5 separate regions of the Homo sapiens genome follow, and regions 1, 2, 4 and 5 are each linked to region 3. The links are contacts of gene promoters, found by promoter capture Hi-C in human tissues and cell types (Jung and others, 2019). All regions are on one chromosome and are shown on one strand. The core of a region is centred on a gene start or on the middle of the fragment in contact, and the rest is flanking DNA. Distances in the headings are between cores, read along the strand shown.

Region 1 (3,562 bases), core at 963-3,462, 85 kb after region 3:
TAAATTAGTAAACAAATGCACTGTGTAGACAGGAAGATACTATGAGAACATAAAAACTTTCTTCTAATTACTAAATAAATACAAACACACAAAGATGTTGTGACTGCAAAATAACTGAGTAATTATATAGTATCTGGGCGACACACTGACAGTATGAGGTAGACCGAAAACAGCCACCTGCAGCAACTGCTGCCAAGTCAATTTCTTCACTGTTGAAAGTAAGTGCTCAGTCTCCAAACACACAAATTCAACTAAAAGCAAATAATGGCTGGGCACAGTGGCTCACGCCTGTAATCCCAGCACTTTGGGAGGCCAAGATGGGCGGATCACTTGAGGTGAGGAGTTTGAGACCAGTCAGGCCCACAAGGTGAAACCCCGTCTCTACTAAAAATACAAAAAATCAGCCAGAAGTGGTAGCGTGCACCTGTAGTCCCAGCTACTCAGAAGGCTGAGGCAGGAGAATCGCTTGAGCCCAGGAGGCAGAGGTTGCAGTGAGCGAAGATCGCGCCACTGCACTACAGCCTGGGTGACAGAGTGAGACTGTTTCAAAAAAAAAAAAAAAAAAAAAAAAAAAAGGCAAATCAACCAATAAGCATCTCTCTTGGTTTTGCAGGATTAGCATCCGTTCGAAATTAGCCTGCTCATTTTGTAGGCGTTCCGAACTCCCAATCCTACCTCATCAATATGCCAGGAGGGCACTGGGCAAGCAAAAGGACTCATCCATATGACAGGGAAAGCTTCTACCATGAGCCGATTTCCACAGATTCTCTACAGCGTTCATTTCATAGAAGGCACAGGTGCAGGAAAATGTTTTCAAAAGTACCGACAAAAAAGGTGTTTTTTAAATTAAAAATGTTATGGTATTAAATTTAGTGGGGGAATGAAGATTATGAAATTTAAGGGGGTAATTATCATGAAGAAATTGTCTAGAACTCATGGAATTCAATGTAACAATCAGACGTCATCAAATTCACAACATACCCCCTCCAATACACACTTCCCTTTACATCTGCTGCTTCCGAGCCAGCCTCTGGGTGTGAGTAGACCCTGCCCTGCTGGCTCAGCATCCCCTCCCTCACCAGGAGTGGACTTGCAAACTCTGCTCCAGCCGCAACGACTGTCTCCTTCTGTGTTTTTGTTCTTCCACTGCCTGTCAAACACTTCATCTGCAAGACTCCATTCAAGTATCTTGACAACTACTATTTATCACTAGACTCATGGTTTTCCACTAAACTTTAAGCTCCTTTAGAGCAGGGATCATGCTAAATTTATCCTGTAGTCTCAATGCCTAGCAGGACGGCAGGCACACCCAGCAGGTACCACTTGTTTGTTGAATTAAACTGCGAGCATCTTTTCTCTAACTCTCCCTTCCCAGGGAAACTGACCTTACCTCCTGAAATCCTGGTCCTGTAAGGACACCCATCACAACACTTACAAGCCTGTACTTGCCTTGCTTCCTTCTCTCTCTCCCATCTGACTGTGAGCTTTCTGAAGACAGCAATGTGTCTTGTTCAGGTTTGTATCCTCAGCACTTACAATGGTGCTGGCCACACAGTATGCATTTGGTCTTAGTTATTAATTTACTTCTTGTAGTTATTATTTGTCACAATTACAAATTTGCCTGTTATAGAGATGAGGAAACTAGAGTACGAAGATTCAGCAGCTTCACAACACGATACGTTACTAAGCGGCACAGCGGTCTACCTCGAGTCAGTGTTCTTAACTACTATGTCTGTTATCACACCGCGACTACCTCAACAAAGACAGGCTCACTGACTTGTGCCGTAAGAATCAACAGTTATGCTGTTAAATCAGATTTGCCATTTGTACGCTCAAATTATCTTAGAAAGATCATTCAATGCTCCAACTCTGCTGGCCAGGGTCTGGATTGTTGAGGAACTAAAACAATTACATCAAACAACTTGCCCAAAGTCAGAGCTAACAGGACTAAAACCTAGGTCTCAAAGACCCAGCAATTTGACCATAGTATTTTTGCTGACTTTGACAACTGTCAATTCAAACCCTGCACGATTATCTAATTCCTTAGCAAGAGGCAAAATACATATCTCAAAATTTCCAAAATATCAATAAAGCCCAATAGATGCATCCACCCCATTTTAAAACCAAGTATCTTTTTTTTTTTTACTGTTTTGAATTTCAGCACTGACACAGCCAGAGTTTGTTTACTCCCTTAGGACTCATATATGACATTCACAACCTGATGCACCAGGGAGCACCTTTAGCTGAACCAAATAAGGCTAGTGCCTGACTTCAAAATAGATTTTAAGATCTCGGCTAGGCTAAAATAAAATTTATCACATCATTTAAATTATTGTTTGGAGGCCAGGCACGGTGGCTCACACCTGTAATCCCAGCACTTTGACTTTGGAAGGTCAAGGTGGAAGGATCACTTGAGGCCAGGAGTTCAAGACCAGCCTGGGCAACATAGTGAGACCCCATGTCTATAAAAAATGTGAACATTAGCCAGGTGTGGTGGCATGCACCTGTGGTCCCAGCTACTCGGGAGGCTGAGGCGGGAGGATGGCTTAAGTCCAGGAGGTTGAGGCTATAGCGAGCTGTCATTATACCACTGCAGTCCAGCCTGGGCAACAGAGCAAGACCTTCACCCCCCCCCAAAAAAAACACACACACACACACACACACACAAATTACTTGCTTAATTTCTAGCTACTCTAATATGAAAATTGAGTACAATTATTTATCTTACTTTTGAACAGTATCATCCAAATGCATCTGGATGAGGAGGAGGAAAGAGCAAGGGGAGAATGGAAGGACTGTGCTGCGCTACTCTGTCACAGTTACAGCTATTCTTGGGGGAAAGAAGCCATTTTGTAGCAATATACCTCAGTGAGTTTTTTTCATTTTTGCTTATGGAACTGTGATAGGTTTCCCTGACGTCTTACTCACCTGAAATCATGATCAAACATTCATTACCACTGCATACTTACTTCATTCCTAAAACACAAAATGTCAGACATATTTTTATAGCTAGATAAGAGTCATGTTAAAAGTTTAAGATATGTAGTGTAACACTTCTTTGATTGTAATATTCTTCATGCTATATAAACTCTCTAGAATAAATTTACTTCATAATCAAATGTGGCCACCCACCTCACCTTGCTACAACTGCTAGACACACTAGTACAAACTCTCCTAAGTAGCATCCAATGATCACATATACAAAAGTGTAAAACATTTCCAGATCACCCTAGAATTTTCATCTAAGCGGCCTTTCAAATAAACTATATTCTGCAATGTTGGCTTTTACCTAATACACTAATGATTCACTGCAGTTTACACCGTGAATTTAAATAGAGATTTGTTATGCAACATCAAATTTCTTAGTTTCTCCAAAAATTAATCAATATCTTGAACATAAAATATTCTATTCTCAACAATCATTATACAAATAAAATGGCTACATTAATAAAATTTTCTGCCAGAAAATTATGAAAATAAATCTTTAAATGTAGGTTAGAGCAGTGGCAGTGCTGCTAAATGACTTCAGAAAAGACTCAGCGAGTGAGGGGCATCCACAAGC
Region 2 (3,723 bases), core at 293-2,792, 82 kb before region 3:
TCACCTCACCTGGGACTCAGCACTCCATCACCATTTCTTTTTGGGGGCGCGTTCTGGAAGACAGGAGGTCAGGCACACTGAGGCTCAGGTTTTCTTTAGTTGTCCCTTCACCAGGCCCTTGTGGCTGAGGTGGCTGTTGGCAGAGGGGTTGTGATGATTCCAGAATTGCTGGTCTCTGCATGTCTGGACATTAGCAAGCTGAATGTTGACCGCTTGTCATGTTGTCATTAGTAGAACTGGGACACAGCTGCAACAGCCATCTTTTTTTTTTTTTTTTTTTTGAGACGTCTCTCCCTGTCGCCCAGGCTGGAGTGCAATGGCACGATCTTGGCTCACTGCGACCTCGGTCTCCTGCGTTCAAACGATTCTCTGCCTCAGCCTCCCGAGTAGCTGGGATTACAGGCACCCGCCACCACGCCTAGCTAATTTTTGTACTTTTAGTAGAGACGGGGTTTCACCATGTTGGCCAAGCTGGTCTTGAACTCCTGACCTCGCGATCCGTCTGCCTCAGCCTCCCAAAGTGCTGGGATTACACGCGTGAGCCACCGTGTGCAGCCAACCATTTCATTTTGAAAGAAAAACTTTTTTTTTCTTGTTTTAGAGACAGGGTCTCACTCTGTTACTCTGTTGTACAGGCTGGAGTACAGTGGCATGATCTCAGCTGGGCTCATCGATCCTCCCACCTCAGCCTCTTGAGTAGCTGGGACTGCAGACGGGTGACACCACACCCGGCTAATTTTTAAGATTCTTTTGTAGAGACGGAGTCTCACTATGTTGCCCAGGCTGGTCTCAAACTCCTAGGCTCAAGTGATCCTCCCGCCTTGGCCTCCCAAGGTGCTGGGATTACAGCGTGAGCCACCATGGCCAGCCTGAAAGGAAAACTTTTTAAAGTTTAGAAAAGAAAACCTTGTAGAAGAAATAAGTTTCAGAGGTCACTGTGAGACTCAGCTGAGAGCCGGTCAGAACTGTGCCCTCGTGCCTCACATAGCAAGCTCTCCGTAATGTACTTATATTTTTGTTAAGCTTGACAAGTTCAAATGTAAGACAGTTTGAATCTTGTTCTGTGCTCAATAAAGAGGAAATCATGTTAAAATTATGCCAAAGGCCTGTTGACTTTTTTTTTTTTTTTGAGACAGAGTCTCGCTTTGTCGCCCAGGCTGGAGTGCAGTGGCATGATCTCGGCTCACTGCAAGCTCCGCCTCCTGGGTTCATGCCATTCTCCTGCCTCAGCCTCCCGAGTAGCTGGGACTACAGGCGCCCACCACCACACCCAGCTAATTTTTTTGTATTTTTAATAGAGACGGGGTTTCACGGTGTTAGCCAGGATGGTCTTGATCTCCTGACCTCGTGATCCACCCACCTCGGCCTCCCAAACTGCTGGGACCACAGGTGTGGGCCACCGTGACCAGCCATTTTTTTTTTCTTTTTGAGATGGAGTCTGGCTCTGTCGTCCAGGCTGGAGTACGGTGATGCAATTTTGGCTCACCGCAACCTCCGCTTCCTGGGCTCAAGCAGTTCTCCCCCCTCAGCCTCCCATGTAGCTGGGATTACAGGCACCTGCCACCACACCTGGCTAGTTTTTCTAGTTTTTAGTAGAGACAGGGTTTCATCATGTTGGCCAGGCTGGTCTTGAACTCCTGACCTCAGGTGTGAGCCACCGTGCTCGGCCAGGCCTGGTGACTTTTAAACGGAGATGCCACCTGGGCATTAAAACTCTTTTGGAAGACGTAGCAGGGTAGAGGGCAGCCTCTTGCCCTGTGCTGCTGGCTGTAGGCCTCCCTAGTGGAATCTGTGACAATTGTGTCATCACTATACTGTGATTTCAGCAAACGTGTGCGCCTTCTGCCAGCTGCACAGCAGCTCAGTAGTGGGTATAGGACGGAGAGGGCAGACACGTGGGGCTGCCCATGCCATCGATACTTGGCAGAGGTTGATCTGGTAGAGGAGTCAGGAGGTGCCAGGTGGGAGGAGCCCAGTCAGGAATCCACATAAGGGTGGGGTGAATCTAAGTGTCAGCCACAGAAATGGTGCCCGTGGGACAGCAGGGTGCAAGTGCCTCCTCAGCAGCCCTTGGCACTTGCACGGGGCTTGGGAGAGGAAGGGATGAGGGATGGCTCAGCCTCAGCAGCCTCGGGGTGGTGCACGAGGAGGAGCCCGGAAGGCAGGGACACCGTGGCTGGAGCCACTGTCCCAGGAGGGACCCCGAGACCGGCAGTACGCTCTCTGGCCTGCTTCCCAGTGAACACAGACTGACACCCCTCGTTGCTTTGCAGACCGCGTGCTTCCGAGAGGAGCGCGATGTGCTGGTGAACGGCGACTGCCAGTGGATCACCGCGCTGCACTACGCCTTTCAGGACGAGAACCACCTGGTAGGTCGCACAGCCAGAGACTCGGTCAGGGCATTCGCTCCGGCTTTATTCCTTTATGCTGTCACTAAAAATTCAGTCAGACAATGTGGAACTGACATTTAAAAAATGTGTATTGGACTCGATAAAACGGCGGGGCTTGTTTTCATGCAGTAATTGTCAGGTAGAACTTCTTTAAAATACACATGTGGAAGTAAGGACTTTGTTTTTTTCTAATCACTAGAGAAGCTGATTCGTTTGTTTGCTGGGTTTATTACATTTAAATCAGCTGGGAGTTTGAAACACTTTCAATCTTGGATTATTGAGAATAAGGAACCGCAGTGGGGATTAAGCCACGTGGATGTTTTTGCCTCCATCTCAGCTAGGGCTGAGTCCGGGAGTGCCTCTCGTGGGCCTGCAGTCCTCCTGTCTTCCCGCGGTGGGGGGGGTGCCCCAGGCCCTTTCGACAGGTTTTAGGTGACTCTTAGTCTCCACGCTGCCTGTGTATTTTTCCGATTTAAACAGGGCTTGCTTTCAGGACAGATGGACCAGCCTCGTGACGCACATGCATGTGCATTGTCAAGCGTGTTCGCCTCCACGGCACTCTAAGGCAGCTGACTTGGCGGTGAAGGGGAAACCAGCCCTTGGTCTTGGCCGCTGAGTGACCCGCAGACCGCCTTGTTCAGGACTTTTTATTCCTAGAGTGACTCTAGGTTTGCCTGAACCTGAAAGTGTCCACTGCTGGAGCTCTGGGTGGACGTGACGCGGGCAGACCTCAGAGAAGGAGGTCTCAGCCCAACTCATTCCCAATGGCACTGTTTCTGCAGTGGTGGCGAGAGGGGCGTGGTCGCTGTGGTCACCAAGCCTCAGAGCAGGGACCCGAGGCTTCCTTTTCCTTGGCAGCCAACGTGCGTGTCCACCTGAAGCTCCTGGGTTGTGCGCTCCATTGGTTCACAGCAGATGGAGTAGTGTGGGATCCTTCCATTCACCCTAAAGGAGCCCTTGAAGCATCAGAGAAAGCCCTGAGATTTGAACACCCAGGATTAGGGAAAAATGTGTACTTATGTAGACTTTATATATATGTGTTTGCCCAGCAGAGGGGGCAGCTGGTGTTTGTTGAGCACTTAGGATGTTTCAGGCCCACAGGGGTCCCCGTCCGTCTTCCCAACGACCCAGTGATTCCACTGTTTCATAAGGGGGTGTCTGGGGCAGAGGGAGGCGAAGTCACTTGCCCAAAGTGACCACATGGATGACAGCACCTGTGACCAAGACCCAGCCCCAGCCTGGCGAGCAGGTTCCGGATCCCCTGCTCTGGGGCCACCTCCACATAAACCCCCCCGCTTCCTGCTCAGTGTCCCTGCTCCCAGGACCCCGGTGG
Region 3 (3,755 bases), core at 704-3,203:
ACCAGGGACCAGTTTTGTGGAAGACAGTTCTTCCATGGACTGATGGGAGTGGGGAAGGTTTCAGGATTAAGCTGTCCCATCTCAGATGTCAGCCACTTAAGGAGTGCACACCCACCCAGGCCCCTCGCTGGCGCAGTGACAATAGGGGTCCCTAGGAGAATCTGATCTGATCTGAAGGGAGGCAGAGCCAGGCAGGAGTGGGCTCGCCTCTTCCTGGGCGGCCACTTCCTAACAGGCCAGGGACCCGGATGGTGGGTAGAGGGGGGGGTGTTGGGGACACTTTCCCTAGTGTTCTAAAGATGGAGCTTTAGGCACCAGGACAAGGCAAGGCTTTGGGGGAAGGGCATGGAGCAGGCGCTTCCTGGGAAGACCACCCACTGCTGGGCATCACAAGGGCTGTGGGGACAGGGGTGCCTCCCATCCCTCCCAGGACACAGCCTGGCTGGGACCATGGGACCAAGCTCCCCTAGGTTCCCCCCCACTCCCTGCCTCCTAGAATATTCTCCAGAGGCCAAAGTCCCAGTCCTGCAGTGCCTCCATGCCGGTGGGGTCCGCCCTCAAGGCACAGCAGTCCCTGAAGGCGCTTCAGAGACTCTGTGAACCCCCAGCCCAGTGGCAGTAGCAGCCCGGCCTTACCATGTCTGAGACGGCGTGACCTTCTTGCACCAGGACTGACACCATCTGCAGGAAGAAGCTGCCTCAGCCGAGCCGGGAGCAACCCCCACCGGGGCCACACGGTCTCAGGGGTCCAGGCCCATCACCGACCCCGCCGGCGCTCCCAGGCACCTTGTCCGCCGGGAACTCAACGGCGCCGCCGGCGCACGGGGTCCGGTTCTGGCTCCAGTTGGCTGCGACGTCGAAGTCCGTGTTGGGGACCCAGAGTTTGGAGACCGCCTGGGTCAGTGCTGGGGAGGAGGCGACTGAGTGCCCGGGATGCTCTCCGGGATGCTCCCTTCTCAGGGAAGGCCACCCACCCAGAGAAGTGCGGAAGGTCCGCGCGGATCACCCGGGACGCATAGGAACCCCATCCCCGGGGGCCCGGACCCAGACCCTGGTCCCTCCCGGCCAGACTGTGGGCGCCCTGCCCGGGCGCTCTCCAACGGACTTCTACTGATACCTGCAGAGCCCGCTCAAACGCGCCCTGCAGGACGCCTGCCTAGATAGCCTCCCGGCACTGCCCCCAGTTTGCCTGGCGCTGGAGCAGAGGACAGCGTTGTTAAGGACAGTGACAACTGGGGCATGGAGGAGGATGGGGCAGCACAGACCTCTTCTCGGCCTTGGAATCAGGAAGGCTTCCCGGAGGAGTCCTACCTGGGCCGGGAAGAGCTGCGACAGAGCGCAACCCGGTATGAGAAGTAAGAAGGGGCTGGGGGCGGCAGGACCAGGTCAGGCCGGCCCTGAATGTGGTGGGTGGGGTTGTCCTGAGGGAGCCGCGAGGGGTTTAGGGAAGGGGGCGCCAGGGACACGCGCCGGCCTGGTGTGAAGGCGGAGGAGGGCTCAGTGCTCCCTTGGGGACCGGGAAGCTGAGGCGGTCTGCCGAGCCCCGCAGGCGCACACTCGCTGCTCTCGGCAGGTTCTGGGGACCGCGCCCATTTCGCAGACGGAAAAACCGCGAGGGCAGGAGCCGCCGGAGGCCGGGGCTGGCCGAGGTTCCCGGAGCCCCTCCTCTCCTCTCCCGCACCGCCCGATGCACTGGCCGCGCACTTCCGGGCTGCGCACTCGCCAGACGAGGGAGGCAGGGCCGAGTTTCACGCCCCCAACCCTCCAAAGCCCTCCCTGCCCACTCCTCGGAAGATCTTCACCCTCCAGGCCTAGAGCGACCTCGGCCCTGGGTCCTGACAGACCGCTACCGTCCGGGCCCGCACCGGTGTGGTCCCGGCTCACCGCAGAGCTGCAGCCACAGCAGGACCCGGCCCAGGACGCCCATCTCGCCTCGGCTCCTTGCACCCCACCAGGAGACTTTGCCCCACTGGACCCACGTGACCAGGCAGGTCGGGTGGGGGCACCAGGGTCGGTTACACATTTACCTCCAGACCCGCCCAGGGCCGACTCTTCAGGCCCCTGGGAGGCACCTTCTCAGCCTCCCCTTACCCGCCCCTGCAGGGCCTGAACACCTTAGGTTCTCAGGAAGAAGGGCAAAGAAGAAGGGCTTGGCGAGACTGACCTACCCTGTAAAATGGGTGTCTTGCCGGGAGGGGGAATAAACGACCTTTGAATTCACCCCTTTCTCTGTCCTGTGTGCTGCTAGGGCTGAGCTAGTCTGCTCACCATTGGAACTGGGTGTCCACTTCTCCACGCAGTGCCCCTGTCCCATGGGCTGTGGGTGGTGGTTGGATGATAGAAGGAAGATCCTGGATGGAACATGGTATGTGGATGGTATAGGAGGGTGGATTGTGGATGATGGTGGAGAGTAGTGGATGGTGAGTAGGGGACAGCTGATGGACAGCAACATTGATGGTGCATGGTGTACGGCATATGGACGCATGGCAGATGAATGGTAAATGGTTGACGGGGTGGATGGTGAGTGATAGAGGGTGGATGGGTGATGAATGGATGGATGAGGATGGTGAGTGAAAAATGAATGAATGGCCGGGCGTGGTGGCTCATGCCTGTAATCCCAGCACTTTGGGAGGGTGAGGCAGGCGGATCGCGAGGTCAGGAGATCAAGACCATCCTGGCTAACGCGGTGAAACCCCGTCTATACTAAAAATATACAAAAAAATTAACCGGGCATGGTAGAAGGCGCCTGTAGTCCCAGCTACTTGGGGGGCTGAGGCAGAACGGCGTGAACCCAGGAGGTGGAGCTTGCAGTGAGCCACGATCGTGCGCTGCACTCCAGCCTGAGCGACAGAGCGAGACTCCGTCTCAAAAAAAAAAAAAAAAAAAGGAAAAGGAATGGATGGTAATCAGGGAGTGGTGGATGGATAATGGCATAAATGGATACATGGCCGACAGGTAGATCATAAAGAGTGGGTGTTGGCGGGGCACGGTGGCTCACGCCTGTAACCGCAGCACTTTGGGAGGCCAAGGCGGGCAGATCACCTGAGGTCGGGAGTTCGAGACCAGCCTGACCAACATGGAGAAACCCCATCTCTACTAAAAATACAAAATTAGATAGGCATGGTGGCACATGCCTGTAATCCCAGCTACTTGGGAGGCTAAGGCAGGAGAATCGTTTGAACCTGGAAGGCGGAGGTTGTGGTGATCGGAGATCACGCCACTGTGCTCCAGCCTGGGCAACAAGAGTGAAACCCCATCTCAAAAAAAAAAAAGTGGGTGTTAAATGGTGGATGTTTGGTGAGTGATGAATGCTGAATGGATGGATGGTGGATGGTGAATAGATAGATGGTAAATGGATAGATGGTGGATGATGGTTGCATAAATGGTGAATTGTGGATGGAGATGGACGGTGGATAGTGAATAGATGGTGGATAGTGAATAGACAGTGGATAGTGGATAATGGGTGGATAGTAGATGGTGGATAGGATGATAAATGGATGGGTAATGGATGGTAGATAAGTAGATAATGGATAAATGGTGGATGATGGATGGTAGGTGGATGATGGTTGGTGGGTGGTGGATAATGGACAAGTGAATGGTGATGAGTAGATGGTGAATATTAAGTGGATGGATGGGCGGCAGATGGTAGATAGTGGATGATAGATGGTGGATGGTGGATGGTAAGATGAATAGTGGTTGGTGGATGGTGGGTGGTGGATGGTGGGTGGATGGAAGGATGGGTGGTGAATGAGTGA
Region 4 (3,378 bases), core at 682-3,181, 110 kb after region 3:
AAAAATGAATGAAATCCTGTCGTTCACAGCAACATGGATAGAAGTGGAGGACACTATATTAAGTGAGATAAGCCAAAAACAGAAAGTTAAACACCACATGTTCTCACTAATACATGTGGAAGCTAAAAAAAGTTGATCTCACAGAAGTCAAAAGTAAACACAGGATACTAGAGGTTAGGAAGGGTAGGAGGATGGGAAAAATGGGGAGAGAGCTAGACAGGAACAGAGTCTAGTGTTCTATAGCACTGTCGGATGACTGCAGTTAACAATAATATATAGCTTCAGGCCAGGTGCTCTGGCTCACTCCTGTAATACCAGTGTTTTGGGAGGCTGAAGCAGGAAGACCACTTGAGGCCAGGAGTTTGAGACCAGCCTTAGCAACACAGCAAGACCCTGTCTGTACAAAAAAAAAAAAAAAAAAAAAAAAAAAAAAGGGCCAGGCATGGTGGCACAAGCCTACAGTCCTAGCTACTCGGGAGGCTGAGGCAGGAGGATCACTTGAGCCCACGAGTTCAAGGTTACAGTAAGTTATGACTGCACCACTGCACTCCAGCCTGGGTGGCAGAGTGAGACAGTCTGTACAAACACACACACACACACACACACACACACACACACTACTGCTGTAGCAGTATCCTCCTCACAATGTCAGCCCATCTTAGCAACTTCCGATCAAACTGAGAGTCAAATTGAGAGACTGTAATGAAGGCCTTCATCGCCTTTGCACTATGAGACAAGAGATCTGACCTCTGCACAAAAACAAACAAAAACCAAAAAAAAAAAAAAAAAAAAAAAACCGCCTACAGCGCAAACAGCTCCTTGAGCTCCTTGTAGGTGTGGCTTGTGGGAATGGTCAAGAGCCAGGCATGGCGGCACGGGCCTAATGTCCCAGCTACTCAGGAGGCTGAGGCGAAAACTGCTTAAGCCCAGGACTTCATGGCTGCAGTGTACTATCATCCAGGGCAGTACGACAGCACCTGTGAATAGCCACTGCACTCCCGCCTGAGGCAACATAGCAAGACTCTCTCTTAAGAAAAAAAAAAAAAAAGGTACCCATTGTTTGCTCAGAAGGACGCTAATACAGACAGCAGCAACGGGGCTCATGAGAAGAATCAAAGCAGCAAAAATCATGGGGATGCAGCAATTCGGCATCCCCTTAAGGATCAGGCTGTCCTCCACTCCACTGTGAGATACAAAGTGTATAATGCATGGGACTGGCGTCCTACAAGATGATCTAAGTGCATACATACTGAAAAAAGATGCAAAGACTATACACCAAGATGCTAATGGTGTGGGGATAATGAGGAAAATTATTTTATTTTTATCTTTATGTGTTTTCTCTGGGTATACATACAAAGTTAAGATACCTTTACCGAGCTTTCTCCTGAAGAATTCCTTCTTGATGTAAGTGACTGTAAAGGTTCTGCCCTCAGAGATGTCTTATTTCTGGGAATCCAGAATGTGTAATGGACTCGGGGTACCTTTTCTACGTTTCATCTCCCAAAGAATACGTCCACACCCAGGTAGGCTGATGCTGACACAGCAGACAACACTGACCTCCTCCATGCAGAAGTTTAACAGGTGAAATACAGTTACTGACATCAGCAAGAATTGTTGTCTTTCTCTTGATTCTCTCAGGTTCCTCAATTTATAGGATCACTGAGGCTTCACAGATGTCAGCTGCTGATCAAAACAATCATAAGCCCACATCATGATAAGCTCAAGATAAATCTTTAGCCTTAAGTCAGGAATTCTGGGCCCATCTGCATGTCAAATACCACAGAGCCAGTGTCTTGTGAACACTGCAAACACTTCTGAAGAACTACTTTATAAGTTCAGGAGAGCACATCTCAGAAAAAAATGGAATACTTATTTCAATTTCTCACAATTAACTCTAATTTATGACATTGACATTCTCCTACTTAAAAGCTTCTGATGGTCCACCACTCCAGAACTAAGCTTCAACTTGTAAAAGGGGCCATGATCACTGTCCTCACCACACACTGAGGTCACCCTATGTTCCCACCAGAGCCGACTGCACTGGGTGTGATGAACAGTATCTATACTCTCTCTCCCACTGCACCGCCCCATCCTCACCCAAATCCCCTCAAGATCAAAATTCTTTATCTTGTAAAACTCCTGCTCAAACATTACAGTTGTAGGGGGGAGGGGGTTGTTTGTTTTTTGGTAAAGCATTCTTGACCCTTTAAGCCAAGAGTTGGCAAACTTTTTTCCCATAAAGAGCCAGACAGTAACTATTTTATGTTTCATGGGTCACATATTCTTCTTTGCTTATTTTTACAATCCTTTAAACACATAAAAACTATTCTTAGACCCATAGTTTGCCAATCTGTTTTAGATACTACTGCCATGCCGTGCTCCAACGTTTTTGGTAATGCATGGATGGAGTATGTTTCATCAGTTTAACTTCAATCAGATGAACTTTCAAAAGCCAAACTGAGGTTTCCCTTTAAAGATCTGTTCTTGCCTACATGGTCTTTAAAAGTCTATGCTGTGGGCCAAGCGCGGTGGCTCATGCCTGTAATCCCAGCACTTTAGGAGGCCGAGGCGGGCAGATCACGAGGTCAGGAGATTGAGACCATCCTGGCTAACATGGTGAAACCCCATCTCTACTAAAAATACAAAAAATTAGCCGGGTGTGGTGGCGAGCGCCTGTGGTCCCAGCTACTCAGGAGACAGACAGGAGAATAGCATGAACCTGGGAGGCGGCGCTTGCAGTGAGCCGAGATTGCGCCCCTGAACTCCAGCCTGGGCAACAGAGCAAGACTCCGTCTCAAAAAAAAAAAAAAAAAAAAAGTCTATGCTGTGAAAGATTTTATTATAAAGCTTAAAAATAATCCTCATTTGGGATACATTCCATTTCCAGGAGACACAGAGCTTTAAGAAAGTCACTCTAGGCCAGGCGCGGTGGCTCACGCCTGTAATCTCAGCACTTTGGGAGGCTGAAGCAGGCAGATCACCTGAGGTGAGGAGTTTCAGACCAGCCTGGCCAACTGGTGAAACCCCGTCTCTACTAAAAATACAAAAATTAGCCGGGTGCGGCCAGGCACAGTGGCTCATGCCTGTAATCCCAGCACTTTGAGAGGCCAAGGCAGGCAGATCACGAGGTCAGGAGATTAAGACCATCCTGGCTAACACAGTGAAACCCAGTCTTTACTAAAAATACAAAAAATTAGCCGCGTGTAGTGGCACGCACCTGTAGTCCCAGCTACTTGGGAGGCTGAGGCAGGAGAATCTCTCGAACCTGGGAGGCAGAAGCTGCAGTAAGCAGGGATCGCGCCACTGCACTCCAGCCTGGGTGACAGAGCGAGACGCCATCTCAAAATAAATAAATAAATAAATATTAGCTGGGTGTGA
Region 5 (3,463 bases), core at 937-3,436, 110 kb before region 3:
TACAAAAAAATTAGCTGGGCATGGTGGTGGGCGCCTGTAGTCCCAGCTACTTGGGAGGCTGAGGCAGGAGAATGGCGTGAACCCAGAAGGCGGGGCTTGCAGTGAGCAGAGATGGCGCCACTGCACTCCAGCCTGGGTGACAGAGCGATACTCCGTCTCAAAACAAACAAAAAAACAAAAATAAAACAAAAAGAGGTAGAGCATATAGAATAATGAACCACCAGTTTCAACAGTTATCAACTCACAGTCAGTTGTATTTCACTTTTATTCCCTTTCCCCAAAAAGGATTATTTTAGGAAAATCCCAGAAATCTGTCATCTCATTTGTAAATATTTCAGTGTGTGTCTCAAGAAGATGAGGGTTTTCTTTAAAAACATAGCCATAATAATATGACATTAAAAAATAACAGTAATTTCTCAATATCATAAAATAGTCATTGTTTAAATTTCCTTTTTTTTTTTTTTTAAAAAAAGTGGATTTGTGGCCGGGCACGGTGGATTATGCCTGTAATCCTAGCACTTTGGGAGGCTGAGGCAGGTGGATCATCAGGAGTTCGAGACCAGCCTGGGTAACATGATGAAACTACTAAAATATAAAAATTAGCCAGGCGTGGTGCTGCATGCCTGTAATCCCAGCTACTCAGGAGGCTGGGGCAGGAGAATTGCTTGAACCCGGGAGGCAGAGGTCGCAATGAGCCTAGATCACACCACTGCACTCCAGACTGAGTAACAGAGCGAGACTCCGTCTCAAAAAAAAAAAAAAAAAAAAGTGGATTTGTTTTATAGGCATTTGGATTGTACACCTCCTTAATCTCTTTTAATCTGTAAGCTCTTTCTCTCTCCTTTTTTTTTTTTTTTTTTTTTGCAGTTTATTTGTGGAAGAATTGGCATTTGTCCTGTCCTGTTCAAAAGTTTTAACTGGTTTCTAGTGTTTTCCTAGCTGGACAAATTTGGCATTTGACAGATCATTCCTATACTATTGGCCCAGTATATTTTGTGGGAAATAAACTATTTGGGGGTTCAATCGATGTAAAAAAAAATAGGCATTTCTGATTTCATTTCAGATGTTGCAGTGGTAAAGTATATTCCAGTCAGGAGCTGGTGAGGCCTGAGGCCCAAGTGTGCACCCACGCGGGGTTGCAGAGAGGCCGAGAAGTGCGTTATTACCTCCCTTCTCCTTGGTCCTCGTGGGTGGGCATGAGAGGTTGGATCTGTCACTCTGAGACAGCAGAGGGGGACAAGGAGAAGTGAATGAAATACGTGTTGCTTCTCCAGGCCTTCATATCAGAAACACCTGCCGCTGCCCTGAGGCCACAAGGCTGGCCGCCGGCTGGTGCTCTTGGCTCCCTCTGCTGCTTGCTGGGTGAGGATGCCCTGGGCTTGTGGCATTTTTCTTAAAAAAAAAAAAATAATAATAATAATAATAGAAGGCAGGTCTTATAGTAGTTGTTCACTGGAGACACTTTGGAGTTGACAATTAGTGAGGACTCAACTTTTTAAAATGTGATCTTAAGCTTTTTGATTTTTTAATTGAAGTTCAGAAAAATTAGTTGATACTTGTCCACCCATGTGAGTGATGCTGTAGTCTCTGGTACATCAGCTTTTTAGTTGGTTTCCGGAATCCAGCCCTTAGAAGCCAGACGGGTTGGGCATTCTACCTGCACATCAGGCTGCACAGAGGCTGGGCCTTGGTGCTGTTGGGAGCCCCAGGCCCTTCCTGCTGAGAGCACTGGGGAAAGGCCTGCGTGTGGGCGCCTGTAGAGAAATACCAGGCTCATCCCAAATTGGAAATCGCCAGACGTTCTGGAAAAGTACAATTTTCATAATCAAATAAACCCTGGTAGTATAAATCTTGTATTTTTACTGCAGCGTTTGTTTAAGGAGAAGCATTTTTGACAGCTCTTGTAGCTTGTGAAAGGAAATGCAGACTGCACAAAGCTAGATGTCCTTTTGCAAAATGTTAAACATTTGCTGACTTTGCCGTAAAGTTTTATTGATTATTTGGAAAGCTCTTTCATTTGTTGATTTTAGTGTCTCATCTCTAGGCATCTGGTGAAAAGGGTAGTTTTCCTGGCTTACCAATTACTTTCATGAAATCAGAAGAACATTTTCAAGTCTTCTGTGAAAACATCCTTCCTTCCTGTTTATTACTGCGTTTACGTGGGGATGGTGAGCCAAAGATGACGATACAGGAGCACACTGGCCATCTTTCTCTGCTTGGTGTCTGGGTCATGTACTTTTTTTATTTCATTTCCTTCATGCCGGCGTTTTTATAATACTGAAAAATATCAGCATAAAATATTTTTTTTAATTAAAAAAAAAGTAACTCAGAAATGCTTAGGTTCAGTTGGATATGTGACATATTGGAGGTGGGTAGTCTGGCAGCCAATCTGAACACTTTTGTGTGTGTGTAGAGACAGGGTGCCACCGTGTCACCCAGGCTGGAGTGCAATGGCTCAGTCTTGCCTCACTGCAATTCCCACCTCCTGGGCTCAAGCCATCCTCCCGTCTCAGCCTCTCGAGTAGCTGGGACTGTAGGTGCATGCCACCACACTGACCTAATTTTTGTGAATTTTTTTGTAGAGACGGGCTTTCGCCATGTTGCCTAGGCTGGTCTGGAACATCTAGGCGTAAGTGATCTACCTGTCTCAGCTCCCACAGTGCTGGGATTATAGGTGTGAGCCAGCCCTGAACACTTTTTTTTGAGATGGAGCCTCCCTCTGTCACCCAGGCTGGAGTGCAGTGATGGGATCTGGGCTCACTGCAACCTCCACCTCCCAGGTCGAAGTGATCCTCCCGCCTCAGCCGCCCAAGTAGCTGGGACTACAGGCGTGCACCACCACACTCAGCTAATTTTTATATTTTTAGCAGAGATGGGGTTTCACCATGTTGGCCAGGCTGGTCTTGATCTCCTGACCTCGGGTGATCCACACACCTTGGTCTCCCAAAGTGCTGAGATTACAGGCATAAGCCACTGTGCCTGGCCACCTGAACACATTTAATTGTTGAGGCTGAAATAAATAACATTTAAAATGAGTGAAGCCATTGTTATCCAAACTATGCTCCTCAAACTTTCTTTGCCTCTTTTTTAAAAGAACCAGATTCTTCTAAACATTCTTAAATGTTTTAAAAAGAGGTACCATTTCCACCTTCAACCTCATTGGCCATGAGAGGGCTTTGATACCGTGCTGGGCACGCCCCATGGAGATGGGCGACTACTGGTCACTCCTGTCGGGCAAGGTGAGGCCGGGCTGGCCGCTCCACGCTTCTCCTCTGTTCAGGAAGGAAAGTGAGCGCCTCACTCTGAGGGCGGTTTGCTTGGTGGCCCTTCCTCTGGTTCAGGAGCAGCCACCCTGTGAGAGCCAGTTAGGCACTGGGAGGGTTGGAGTTGCTGGCTGGAGAGCCCCTCAGGTGCTGGGAGGGCTGGAGTTGCTGGATGGATTGCTATTGCTGTTTTGAATATT

What was found. Contacts are between HindIII fragments. The study calls those that stand out against the background at their distance.
Region 1: a contact is called between a fragment that was not itself captured here and the fragment with the promoter of AMN in region 3, in 2 of the 25 tissues and cell types used here (H1 embryonic stem cells and IMR-90 fibroblasts).
Region 2: a contact is called between a fragment that was not itself captured here and the fragment with the promoter of AMN in region 3, in 2 of the 25 tissues and cell types used here (dorsolateral prefrontal cortex and thymus).
Region 4: a contact is called between a fragment that was not itself captured here and the fragment with the promoter of AMN in region 3, in 9 of the 25 tissues and cell types used here (H1 embryonic stem cells, IMR-90 fibroblasts, dorsolateral prefrontal cortex and 6 more).
Region 5: a contact is called between a fragment that was not itself captured here and the fragment with the promoter of AMN in region 3, in 2 of the 25 tissues and cell types used here (mesendoderm cells and pancreas).

Annotation. Positions count from the first base shown.
Region 1 is chr14:102,836,224-102,839,785 of GRCh38, reverse strand. The region is part of intron 2 of TRAF3 (TNF receptor associated factor 3); the gene reads right to left. Among named protein-coding and RNA genes, the nearest start is that of TRAF3, 61 kb to the right of the region's middle. The HindIII fragment of the contact is 6,332 bases long and covers 1-3,562 here.
Region 2 is chr14:103,002,574-103,006,296 of GRCh38, reverse strand. It overlaps CDC42BPB (CDC42 binding protein kinase beta), which reads left to right. Exons shown (of 37, transcript NM_006035.4): 4 at 2,274-2,369. Among named protein-coding and RNA genes, the nearest start is that of CDC42BPB, 53 kb to the left of the region's middle. The HindIII fragment of the contact is 7,582 bases long and covers 1-3,723 here.
Region 3 is chr14:102,920,861-102,924,615 of GRCh38, reverse strand. It overlaps AMN (amnion associated transmembrane protein), which reads right to left and starts at 1,953. Exons shown (of 12, transcript NM_030943.4): 1 at 1,885-1,953; 2 at 787-905; 3 at 637-681. The coding sequence starts at 1,927. RefSeq lists silencers at 168-366, 1,530-1,729. The HindIII fragment of the contact is 38,072 bases long and covers 1-3,755 here.
Region 4 is chr14:102,808,969-102,812,346 of GRCh38, reverse strand. All of the region lies in intron 1 of TRAF3 (TNF receptor associated factor 3), which reads right to left. Among named protein-coding and RNA genes, the nearest start is that of TRAF3, 33 kb to the right of the region's middle. RefSeq lists silencers at 585-694, 2,504-2,663. The HindIII fragment of the contact is 3,490 bases long and covers 187-3,378 here.
Region 5 is chr14:103,029,936-103,033,398 of GRCh38, reverse strand. The region is part of intron 1 of CDC42BPB (CDC42 binding protein kinase beta); the gene reads left to right. Among named protein-coding and RNA genes, the nearest start is that of CDC42BPB, 26 kb to the left of the region's middle. The HindIII fragment of the contact is 5,944 bases long and covers 1-3,463 here.